Regions from separate parts of the Homo sapiens genome. Here regions 2 and 3 are each linked to region 1. Evidence: promoter capture Hi-C in 16 types of primary human blood cells and fetal thymus (Javierre and others, 2016). All regions are on one chromosome and are shown on one strand. The core of a region is centred on a gene start or on the middle of the fragment in contact, and the rest is flanking DNA. Distances in the headings are between cores, read along the strand shown. Region 1 holds the start of NTF3 (neurotrophin 3). Region 2 overlaps VWF (von Willebrand factor). Region 3 overlaps VWF (von Willebrand factor).

The links. Contacts are between HindIII fragments. The CHiCAGO score rates a contact against its expected background, and 5 or more counts as called.
Region 2: a fragment that was not itself captured here is called in contact with the fragment with the promoter of NTF3 in region 1 in 1 of 17 cell types (endothelial precursors); the score reaches 5.1 in endothelial precursors.
Region 3: a fragment that was not itself captured here is called in contact with the fragment with the promoter of NTF3 in region 1 in 1 of 17 cell types (megakaryocytes); the score reaches 7.5 in megakaryocytes.

What each region holds. Positions count from the first base shown.
Region 1 is chr12:5,429,836-5,433,776 of GRCh38, forward strand. NTF3 (neurotrophin 3) reads left to right here and starts at 2,273. Exons shown (of 2, transcript NM_001102654.2): 1 at 2,273-2,507. The coding sequence starts at 2,490. RefSeq lists an enhancer at 3,090-3,615. The HindIII fragment of the contact is 3,984 bases long and covers 1-2,825 here.
Region 2 is chr12:5,961,803-5,965,618 of GRCh38, forward strand. All of the region lies in intron 47 of VWF (von Willebrand factor), which reads right to left. Among named protein-coding and RNA genes, the nearest start is that of ANO2, 18 kb to the left of the region's middle. The HindIII fragment of the contact is 1,334 bases long and covers 1,508-2,841 here.
Region 3 is chr12:6,040,464-6,044,161 of GRCh38, forward strand. The region is part of intron 18 of VWF (von Willebrand factor); the gene reads right to left. Among named protein-coding and RNA genes, the nearest start is that of SNORA120, 2.1 kb to the left of the region's middle. The HindIII fragment of the contact is 6,812 bases long and covers 1-3,698 here.

The DNA of each region.
Region 1 (3,941 bases), core at 1,023-3,522:
ACAGACCCACCAGCTTAGGACAAAACCCCTTGGAGTTGGAAATAAGACAAACTCTGGGATCCCCGAAAGTCCCGGCAAAATGACGCGGCCAGCCAGTGCAAGGCATCTGCAGAACAAATCCAAGTCCTAAACGCACTGCTTGCTGCCTTTTCTTCTCCTTCCTTTCTTCTGATTTTTCAAGTTTGTTTGCCCCCCTTCCCCTCCTCCCTCCAGACTGCCAGGGACCTGGGAGCTGCCTGCAGATCAGCCCGCACATGTATTTAACCCCTTCCCTGCTGCAGCAGGAGCCAACCACCTCTTTCCTTGCAATCTTCAGGTTCCCAGAGGACCTGGAGCTTGAGAAAAGAACTCTGCCAGTGGATCTGAAACTGGGGCCTGAATCCCTCCTTTGACCAGGGCGAGAAGCTGGAGGAGGGGGGCAAGTGCGGGAAGTGGGGGAGGGCAGGGAGGCGGGCCAGATGAGAGGGAGAAAAGCAGAACCCGACAGAGCACGCCCAATCCAAACCTTCATGGTGCTGTGTGGCTGGGTGGAGGGAACGACTCGGCAGCCTCTTCTGGCCCTGAGGAAGACGTCGATATTTTGGCACGAGGGGAGCCACTGAAGGACTACCCTACCCTTGCGAGGGACCGCAGGAGGTGACGCCCCTGGGCCTCGGTGGGCGCTTCTGGCGGTTTTCGATGTGGCAACCCCCATCAGCCAGGATAATGATGAGGCAGGTACAATCTATCTAGTACGCAGCCCCCAGACTCCCCCCTCCCTTCCCACCTCCCCATCCAACCCCCCAGCTACTCTCTGCGGCCGGTTGGTCCTGAACTGGTGGGTGCAGTTCCGATGTTTAACCAAATTCTCAAGCAATTTCAAGGTATTTGGATTTTTTGAACCTGGGCCCTAACCGAAACGCGGAACGGCTTGCTTATTAGACACCTCGAACGACAGGGCAGGGAGGAAACGGGATACTCGCTGCCCTTCCCAGTCGCGCGTGAGTCAAAAGGTCCTGGCAGGAGATGATGTGAGGAGCGGCTGAAGTGGCAGGGAGGAAGGGATGAGGGGCTTGGAGCGGAGGTCCACCACGCAAGGACTCGGGAAGCGGGCAAGTGGGCAAAACTCTGCTTCCGGGCTCTCGATTTCTCGTTGATCACTAAGTGGTATTTTTCCCCCTTCTCTCGATGGCAAATGGGCGAAATCAAGATGACTTAACTTGGTAAATTTAGAGAGAACGGCTCGGAGCAAGTGAGGTCTAACGGGCAGCTAAAATTATCTCCAAATAAGAGATTTTGACCCCCTCCCCCTATCCTCTCCTCGAATGTATCCACCGGTGGGGAAGTGAGCGTCATTACTTTCGGGGCGCCACGAACAGGTTTGTTTGTTGCTCGCCTTTCCTGCTTCTCGCGCTGTCCCCGCGTGCAGACTGGTGGGTGCTGGGCGAGTGATTAGCTGCAGGGCCCCATCCTAGTTTGGAAGGAAGGGGTTTAGAAGTTGGAGGATGGGTGAAATGGGAGGCTGCGATCCATCTCCCTCTCCCTTCCACACTCAAGCTCCCGCAAACACGCGCGCGCACACACAGCCCCTCCCTAGTCCCTCGGACCACCCGCCCCCACGCCCCTCTACCTTGACCTCCCTTGACCGCCGACACAGCGTCCTGGGTGCGGGTCCCCGGGAGCGGGGAGTTCGCCGGGGAGCGATTGTCCTTGGGCGTGTTCGTGCTGTGGGGTGGGGGGAGGAGTGGCGGGTGGGCTTGGTAGGGGGTGGGGAGAGATCTGGAGCTGGAAGGGTCTAAGGTTTGGAGGAGGAGTTTACGCCTCAGACCTGATCCTCCTGAGGAAAAAGGCAGGAAAAGGCCCTGATGCCTTGTAAAGAAAATCTTGAAAGAAAAAAGATCAAAAAGAAAAATTTCAAGAAAAAGAACCACTAAGAAAGGCTGAAGACACTAACATGTAACCTGTTACGATACATTTAACGTTTCGTTTTTTCCTGGATCTCTAAAAGGGAACTCAAGGGTGGGGGTTACTGAAGAATACTACAGATTTGGAAGTTTTTGTTGCTGTTGTTGTTTGGTTTGGTTTTGTTTTTCAAGAGGGGCCAGGAGAAATGACCCCTTCCCCGCCACGGGTCCCGAAGTGAGGGCGGGGGGGGGGCTCTGGGGCGCGGGCGCGCGCGGCGCGGCGCGGGCCGGCGGGGGAGGGCGGCGCGGCGCGGAAGGGGTTAAGGCGCTGAGCGCGGAGCCATCTGGCCGGGTTGGCTGGTTATAACCGCGCAGATTCTGTTCACGGGACTCAGAGTTGAAGCTCCTCTCCCTTCCGAACAGCTCCGCGCACCGCCCCGCGACGCAGCCCGGCGCAACTACTTTCTTCTCTCTCCTTTCTTTCTTCCTCTCCTTTTTCCCCTGCTGGGTAGTGGCTGCGGCGGGGTGGGGGAGACTTTGAATGACCGAGCTCGCGTCCACCTTTCTCTTCATGTCGACGTCCCTGGAAACGGCCACACGGATGCCATGGTTACTTTTGCCACGGTAAGGGGAGGCGGCGGGCACCTTGGGTGGGCAGGTTTGGGGATGGGGGTCCACGTGGGGAGGGATTTTCCAGTGGACTGGTGCGGGGGGCCCCAGATCCGCATCCCGCCCCACCCCCATCGCGCCGCGCTCACTCACTTTCCCGGGCTTGTGTCTTCCCCAAAGTTTGCGCTGGGATCTGCTCAGGCCGAAGCGCAACCGCAGCCACCCCGCTACACACACACACACACACACACACACACACACACACACACACACACACACAGACACGGACACCCTTCTCCACCTCCTCCCCTCTTGTCCCTCGGCTGCCCAAGAAGCTTCCCTCAATCTGGGAAAGTGATCAGGTTTAAGGGACCTGGATTGGAAAGGGTGGGGGCAGAAGAGGGGAAATGGGGACGACGAAAGAGCAGGAAAGAGATTCAACAGAATCAACCACCCACCACTCCCAACCGACCCGCCTGCTCCTCCGAGAAAGCTCCTAGCGCATCCTATAACAAAAGGGGGTGGCAGACAGAACTCCGGGCGGGGAGGTGCCGCGGCAGCTCCCCTGCACACGCCCTGCACTCTGCCGGCCGCTGAGCCTGATTCTCAGCTCGCCCCAGCACCACTCTGGCCCGGGCGTGGGCTGGGGGGAGGGGACGCGCAGCTCAGGACCCGGAACCTCGCGTTCCAGTTTTGGGAGTTGGGACTCACTGCCACGCGCCGCGTACCTGCGTTGGAGTTCCCCGAAAGGGTTTTTTCAGAAAAGACCTCGCGCCCCGGGCTCCTCTTGGCCAGCGCCCACCCGGTGGCCACCCCACCCTGGGCCTTTGCGCAGATGTTGGAGCTCCGTACGCAGCCCGCACATCTGGGACCCCTCCGGGGAGCGGCGGGCACCCGGGCCCGGCCATCCCAGGGGATCTCCTTGCGGTATCGTCCAGCCTGTTCTCGGACTTTGAGCGGTGGCGTGGGAGGCCGGGAGACCTGGGCACCCGCGCAGCCAGCCAGGTCGGAGTTTAAAGGTCCCACGACGGACCGAACTGTCCCATTGCCCCAGAGCTTTACTCAGTGGTGGATGCTCCTGATGAAATTTGGGACGCTTGGGAGTTGAAGGTTAGGGACAGGAGGGGCGAGGGCCGAGGGCATGGGATGGGGGAGTAGGATTCTGCTTGTTGCTCTCCGCGGGAGTGGGTGCGCGTCCAGGAGGCGCTGCTTCTTTGCGGGAGTTTGGCTGCTGCGTTCATTCGTCGTCTGCGCTTCAGATGCACGGCACTGAGACCCTTGCGTCCGACGGTGTCGGGGCTGTGGACTAGAAAGGATCCCTTTTGCTGGAATCGAGGCTGGGGTGGGATTGCCGGTGGGGGAAACACCGAAAAGATCGTCTGGCCTCGGCCTCTGGCGGCGGGCGGCAGGTTCTGAGTCCGAATGGAGGTTGCTCCCGGGAGCGCCGGG
Region 2 (3,816 bases), core at 925-3,424, 530 kb after region 1:
AGAGAAAAATTAAAGGAGACTGCTAAGATGTGAATGTGTGTGTCCCTACAAAATTCCTATGTTGGGATTTAAACTCCCAACTGATGATATTAAGAGATGGGGCCTAAGTGATTTAAGTCATGAGGGCTCCACTCTCCTGAGTGAATTTGTGCTGTTATTTAAAAAAAAAAAAAGTCAAAGGGAATGCCCTAGTGCCTTTTGCCTTTCCACCTTCTGCCACATGTGGATGCCATGAGAAAGCACTGCCTATGAGGAACAGGCCATCATCAGACATCAAATCTGCTGGTACCTCAATCTTGAACCTCCAGAACAGTGAAAAAATTAATTTCTGTTCTTTACAAATTACCCAGTCTCAGGTATTGTGTTACAGCAGCACAGACTGAGAGCAAGACCTAAATAATCGAAGAGATATACTATGTTCATAAATTGAAAAACTCAACCTTGTCTAGACATCCCTTCTCTCCAGATTAACCTATAGATTCAATATAATCCGGCACACTTTAAACATTTTTTTAATAAAAATTAACAGGATGACTCTAAATTTATATAGAAATTGAAAGGACATTAAATACCCAAAACAATCTTGAAAAACAGCAAAGTTGAAAAACTTAAATTATCTAATTTCAAGGCTAACCATAAAGTTACAGTAATCAAGACAGTGGTGAGACCATAAGGATAGACAAAGGATCAGAAAAAAAGGAGCCTAGCGATTGGTCCATACATACACAGGCAATTCTTTTTTTTTTTTTTTTTTTTTTTGAGACAGAGTCTCGCTCTGTCACCAGGCTGGAGTGCAGTGGTACAATCTCGGCTCACTGCAACCTCTGCCCCCTGGGTTCAAGTGTTCAAGTGATTCTCCTGCCTCAGCCTCCTGAGTAGCTGGGATTACAGGCACCTGCCACCACCCCCAGCTAATTTTTGTATTTTTAGTAGAGAAGGGGTTTCACCATGTTAGCCACGATGGTCTTGATCTCTTGACCTGGTGATCCACCTGCCTCAGCCTCCCAAAGTGCTGGGATTACAGGCGTGAGCCAGCACGCCCGGCCAGCAATTCATTTTTTACAAAGGCACCGACATAATTTAATGAGGAAAGGATCATCTTTCAACAAATGGTGCTGGACCCACTGGATAGCCACATGGGAGACCCCTACTTTATACCACATTTAAAATTTATTCCTCATGGATCATAGACCTAAAAGTAAAACTAAACTATAATGCTTCTAAAAGAAAACATAGGATACTATCTTCATGACCTTAGAATGGACAAAAACTTCTTAAACAGGACATAAAAAGCACTAACCATAAAAGAAAAACATCTATAAACTGAATTTTATCGAAATTAAACTTCTGATCTTCAAAAGACACAATTAAGAAAAATAAAAGCTGAGCCACTGGCTGAAAGAAAATATTTCATTAGATACCTTATAAAGGACTAGTATCCAAAATACAGAAAAAAACTCATAATCAATCATTAAAGGGCAAACAACCCAATTTAAAAATGGCCAAAAGCTTGAACAAACACATCACAAAAGATGATATGGCCAATAAGTATGTAAGATGCTCCACATCATTAGCCAACAGAGAAATGCAAATTTAAAATACTAGAAGATTCTGAAATTAGAGAAGCAGTAAGGAAAAAATGCTAGAAGATATCACTTCACAATGGCTAAAATTGAAAAGCATGACAATACCAAGCATTGGTGAGGAAGTAACTGGAACTCCCATAGAATGCTGGAAAAAACTTCTCCCTGAGAAGCATGGTAAGTTGCAAATTGTGTCTCTGCTGTTCTCTTGTATCCCCAGCATCTGGCCCCTACTTGGCACCCCTACACTCACAGAGGAGGTAAGTTCAGCTAGGAACTTGTTTTCCTGTTTGTTTTGTTTCGTTTTTGAGACAAGGTCTCGCTCTGTCACCCAGGCTGGAGGGCAAGTGGTGCAATCATAGCTCAGCGCAGCTAGGGACTTGTTGAAGCGGCATAAGGTAAGAGCGCCTTATTTATATCTGCATCGGACAAAGAAGCAGCTTCGAGACACAGGACTGGGAGAAAAACAGGGCTGGCAACTTTTTATTTTGCAAAGTAAGAGTGTTTTAAACAATTTTAATAAAATAAAAACCAAAAAGCAGCCAGGCGCAGTGGCTCACGCCTGTAATCCCAGCACTTTGGGAGGCCAAGGTGGGCAGATCACGAGGTCAGGAGATTGAGACCATTCTGGTTAACACGGTGAAACCCCGTCTCTACTAAAAATACAAAAAAAAGAAAAAAATTAGCTGGGCATGGCGGTGGGCGCCTGTAGTCCCAGCTACTCAGGAGGCTGAGGCAGGAGAATGGCGTGAACCTGGGAGGCGGGGCTTGCAGTGAGCCGAGATCTCACCACTGCACTCCAGCCTGGGCGACAGAGAGAGACTCTGTCTAAAAATACATACATACATACATACATACATACATGCATACATACATACATACATACATGCATACATACATGCATACATACATACAAAAAGCTACCAAGCTACCATCTACTGTCTCATCATTCCCTAAAAATTATTAGCTTTGCTTTCAGAAGAAAAACAAATTATAGTTCTTTTGACCCTTTCCACCTTCGTACCCCCAAAAAACAGAAAGAACGTAATCACATAATCCCAGAATTTTTTAAAGAATCAATTTAGCTTTGTGAGAAACCAACTCTGTTGTCATTCTTTTTCTCATTTTGCCACATTTAGTGATCACCATTCAGAGATCCATTCATTGGGGTCCTGAGGCTTTTCTATTATGAATCACCAAGTCAATTTGGAGCACCCAGACAGACGACCTGTCCCAAGGTCAAGGTTAGGAGTCAGTAAGCTTGCTCAGAGATTAATTTAAACCATTTGCTCTCATAAATCAAGCCATGAACTTGGCGTGTCTTCAGGAGCAGGCAGAAGGAAAAGCCAGTGAGGACAGGGCAGTCAGGGAGGCAAAATCCCCACAGCAGGAGGCAGAGGGCAAAGTTAGGCCAAGAAAAGGAAAGGTGGAGGGCAGTTATGCGAGAAGAAAGATTTGGAAGAAAAGGGAAAGGAGGCAGAAAATAAGCCGAAGGGGGCAACAGTGTTAAGGGTGTGGCAGGGGCTTGGAAGAAGCAAGGGAGGGAGGAGAGAGCATGGAAGTGAATGGAGGGAACAGCCTGCTCTGCAGCATGTCTCCTACCCGGCAGGGCCAGACCACAGCTGCACACGATGGACAGGACTTGTTTGGGCACTGCTGGATTTCCTGGCTGCTGCTGGCTGGGGGTATGTGTTCCACATTTCCCCGTTCAAGGGGAGGGCAGAGCTGCCCTTTGGGTTTTCCCCAGAACATTTGATCACCGCAGGAAACATCCTTCTCAGGAGCAGCCTCTTCCTCCTCCTGCTGAGCAAGTTCCCAGCCAGCCCCAGAGTTCACTTGTTTAGGTCTGAGCAGCCAATTAGTCCTGCTTTCCTCACACAGTTGTCCTCCTAAAACTGCCTTGCACACCCCTCAGGGCCCCTTTCCATGTATTTCATCGACGGCTCGCAGCCCTTCCATCCATCTCCCCGTGTTTCCCTTTTCTCACCCCGGCTTCTGGCTGCCGGTTATTCATTCACCATGCCCTTCCCTGGAAGGTCTATTCGACATTCAACCCATTCATTGCTCAAGGTCCACTCAGGGTTGCCCTCCTCCGGGACGCCTTTCCAGGGTTCCACAGCAGAGTGACCTCTCTTCCTCATGCTTTCTTTGAGCAGTCAGCTGTCAAGCCTCATCTCAACCACTTGTCAGCACAAACTGCCTCCTGCTGCTCTCCCTTTAGGTAAGAGCACTG
Region 3 (3,698 bases), core at 1,194-3,693, 610 kb after region 1:
TTAAACCACCACTCACTAAGCACCTCCCATGTGCTCGCTGCTCTCATCTCCAGTCTTCCCAACAGCCTGCAAGCCAGTTTTACAGATAAGAAAATTAAGACGCCAAGATGTTAAGTGACTTGCCACTCACTTAAGTAGATGTTAGGAGGCAGGATTCAAACCTGGAAGTGTGAGGTTCCGATACCATGCCGTTTCCAGGCGGTTTCTCTGCCCTTCATTTATCACGGTGCGGACCACTTAGCAAAGGGACCCCCATCCTCCTCATTCCCATGCCAGGAGACCTTTGCACGATGGCAGGAGCAGATACAGCCTGCAGCTTGTGGGGTCAACCAGAAAACCTCTGCTCTAAGCAGGTGCCAGGCCTGGGACAAACCAGAAAGAGAGGGGTTCTTTCTCTGCCCCCGCCAATATTTTCAAACAGGTGCTTCTGGGCATACGGTGGACACTGAGAGGCACCTTAGAGGAGGAGAGACAATCTTCGGCTGAGAACAGGGCTGCTCAAAGTGCATTCCCTGGGCCAGGGCCAGCCTGTGAGGACGCAAGCACAGAAACTAAGAGAAAGTGTTTAGAAAATCTTAGGGAAATTTGGCAGAGTCATGTTATGTCTGTTATATGTCATAAAAAGTGGGAAGTAAGAGTTTAGATTTAGGGATCATGAAAAAAAGGAAAGAAAACATTTTTTAAGGCCGGGCATGGTGGCTCACACCTGTAATCCCAGCACTTTGGGAGACAGAGGTAGGCAGACCACCTAAGGTCAGGAGTTCGAGACCAGCCTGGCCAACACGGCAAAACCCCATCTCTACTAAAAATACAAAAATCAGCTGGGTGTGGTCGTGTGCGCCTGTAATCCCAGCTACTCAGAAGGCTGAGGCAGGAGAATCACTAGAACCTGGGAGGTGGGGGTTGCAGTGAGCCGAGACCATGCCACTGCACTGCAGCCTGGGTGACAGAGCAAAACTCCGTCTCAAAAAAATTTTTAAAAAAAAAAGAAATTTTTTTTTTTGAGACGGAGTCTCGCTCTGTCGCTCAGGCTGGAGTGCAGTGGTGCAATCTCAGCTCACTGCAACCTCCGCCTCCTGGGTTCACGGCATTCTCCTGCCTCAGCCTCCCAAGTAGCTGGGACTACAGGCGCCCGCCACCACGCCCAGCTAATTTTTTGTATTTTTAGTAGAGACAGCGTTTCACCGTGTTACCGGGATGGTCTCGATCTCCTGACCTCGTAATCCGCCCGCCTCAGCCTCCCAAAGTGCTGGGATTACAGGCGTGAGCCACTGCGCCCAGCTGAAAATATTTTTTAGTTGGGTGGGATCATATTATTTTTGTCATTGCTTTTGTTTTATTTTTATGAGAATTCATTTTTATTGTATTTACAAAAGCATGGGTCCACAGCAGGCTGGAAATCTAAGAAAAAGCATCCTTTACAGGTCTCTCCTATGGACAGCAGGAAGAACTGATGGGTGCAGCCTCTGAGACAGCCTTGGATAGTTACAGAAACAACAATGAAAGCTATTCCTACACTTCTGTAGAACTCTCTGGCTTTAAAGTGCTTTCACACACATCTCCTTGGGGCCCACAGCCATGCATCATGGAGGCAGAACAGGAATTCGGTGTCTACGTAACACATGAGGTGACTGGGCTTCCGGTAAAGACTGAAGGATTGCACAAGAGCATGGAGTGGGAAAGCAGGGAAGCCTGGCCTGACGGGTCTGCCCTCTGCACCCCATTCCTGCTCTTTCTGCCCCCCGCAGATCTGCCCCCGGGAAAAAGCCACTTCCCTTTCCCCTGTCAAGTCCTCAGAAGAATGCAGAATCCGTGACCCCTTCCCCAAGCCCTTAGTGACATCCCACAACCCTGCCCCTTCACAAGGGACAGACTGGACAGAGGAACACCCCGAGGGATGATGTCTGCACCATCAGATGGGCCCAAACAGGGTGTTTCCAGGCCCAGCTCCATTTTCTTTGTGTTATGGCCAAGAACACGTGTCCCGTGCTGCAGGCGGCACGCTGCGCACCCTTAATAAATTACACGGACTTCTCTGCTCTCTCGAATCTGGCCGCAATAATTTGCACACTCGCCGGCATCGTAAGGAAGCAGTTGTGAAAATAACCGAATCTCTTACAATATGAACCTGCAAGTTAGAATCCCCTGTGGCTGAAGTGCGAGTCACCTCGTCACGTGACAGGTATCCAAGTGCTGTCCTCAGAATGCATGCCCAGTGCTTCAGGAATGAAATGAGCGCCTAACAGGATAGCCACAGCCTGTATTTGAGGTCCCGCTGTCCTCTTTTTTGGATTTGGGGTCATAATATAATTATTGTGGTTACTAATATTTAAGGCTATCTGTATTTTTTCCTTCATGACAAAAAAGTTTGTTTCAAAGCATATCCGATGCTGACATAGTCCTCTGAGTGATGTTCCTTTTCCTGCTGAGTATGATGAAGAGACAATGATCTATGCTTTCCCCACACCAAAGCTCTGAGACACTCTACCTAAGAGGCCCCAGGGATAAAGAAGAGCAATAAGGAAGATTCCCCTGCCCTCTCCTATTTTTTGTTCCTACCCAGGTCTGAGATTCCCCACCTTAGAGACCCTTCGTGATATCCACCTTCTGCTAAGGCACCAAACAACCCTTCCAGTTCAAAGGTGCTCATTGGCCAATCGCTAGCTCTCCTCATCAGAAAAGACAGTTCCAAAACCCTCAGAGGCTAAGACAGAGGAGGAGAGAATTAACAAGAGTTGGTCTCTCTGTTTGGGAGAAGAAAGAGTTGAAGGGGAAGTAGAAAAGTAAGCATCTGTCCTTCACACACTGCAATCCCAGCCTTCCTGAGAGACACTGGTAATTGAGTCCACATTCCCTCTACAGAATATTGACAGGTCCCACAGTCCAGGACACTTCCCCTCAAGCAGAGTCCTGGGCAACACTAAGTCCCCTCCAAAGCCATCTGAGAGCCACCCTCTCCCATTCTGGCCTCCACAGCCTCTGCCCCAACTCCTCACCATTCACTTTGGGTATAAGGAATTGGAGTTGGGGAAAACAAGAAGACAGGATGCATTTTGAAAGAGAAACATCTGGAAGTTGCATCCTTCAGGATGTATGCGTAATCTATTTAATACAACGCTGGCTAAGATTAGACTTGGGAGGGAGATAAGGAGGAGTAGGCATGCTCAGATCATTGCCACCAGCAGCAGAACATCCACATAGGAGCCAGGAGTCGCAAACCAGCACGGCCTTGGATGCACGGCCTCCATGCCTGTTTCAGGCACAGCACCGGAGTCATGGAATGTTAAGGGCTGGCCAAGACCTCACGACTCACATTACAGATGAGGAAAACAAGTTTCATTGTGGGGAAGAGACTTGTTGGGCCCATGGCTTGCTAGTGACACGGCAGGGCCATCAATGTCTTTTTTTGAAATAGAAAATTATATGCATATACGTCAATCATATGCAAATATATATGTGTCCCTCCATTTTCATAGCATGGAAGGCGGCCCCTGGGAAAATTCTAGTGGGAATGCTTGTTTTTACTAGTACGTATTTTCTGGAAATTCTTTGCTTCCTATGGCACTCCTGTAAGCTAAGTTCTTATATTTTTGTCAGATCCTGTGAGGATCAACCCCAGGCATTTTCCTAACAACTCCCTCCCTGACTTTGGCAGGGAGGAGACAGAAGAGCCTCCCCTCCTCCATGCCCCCATTACC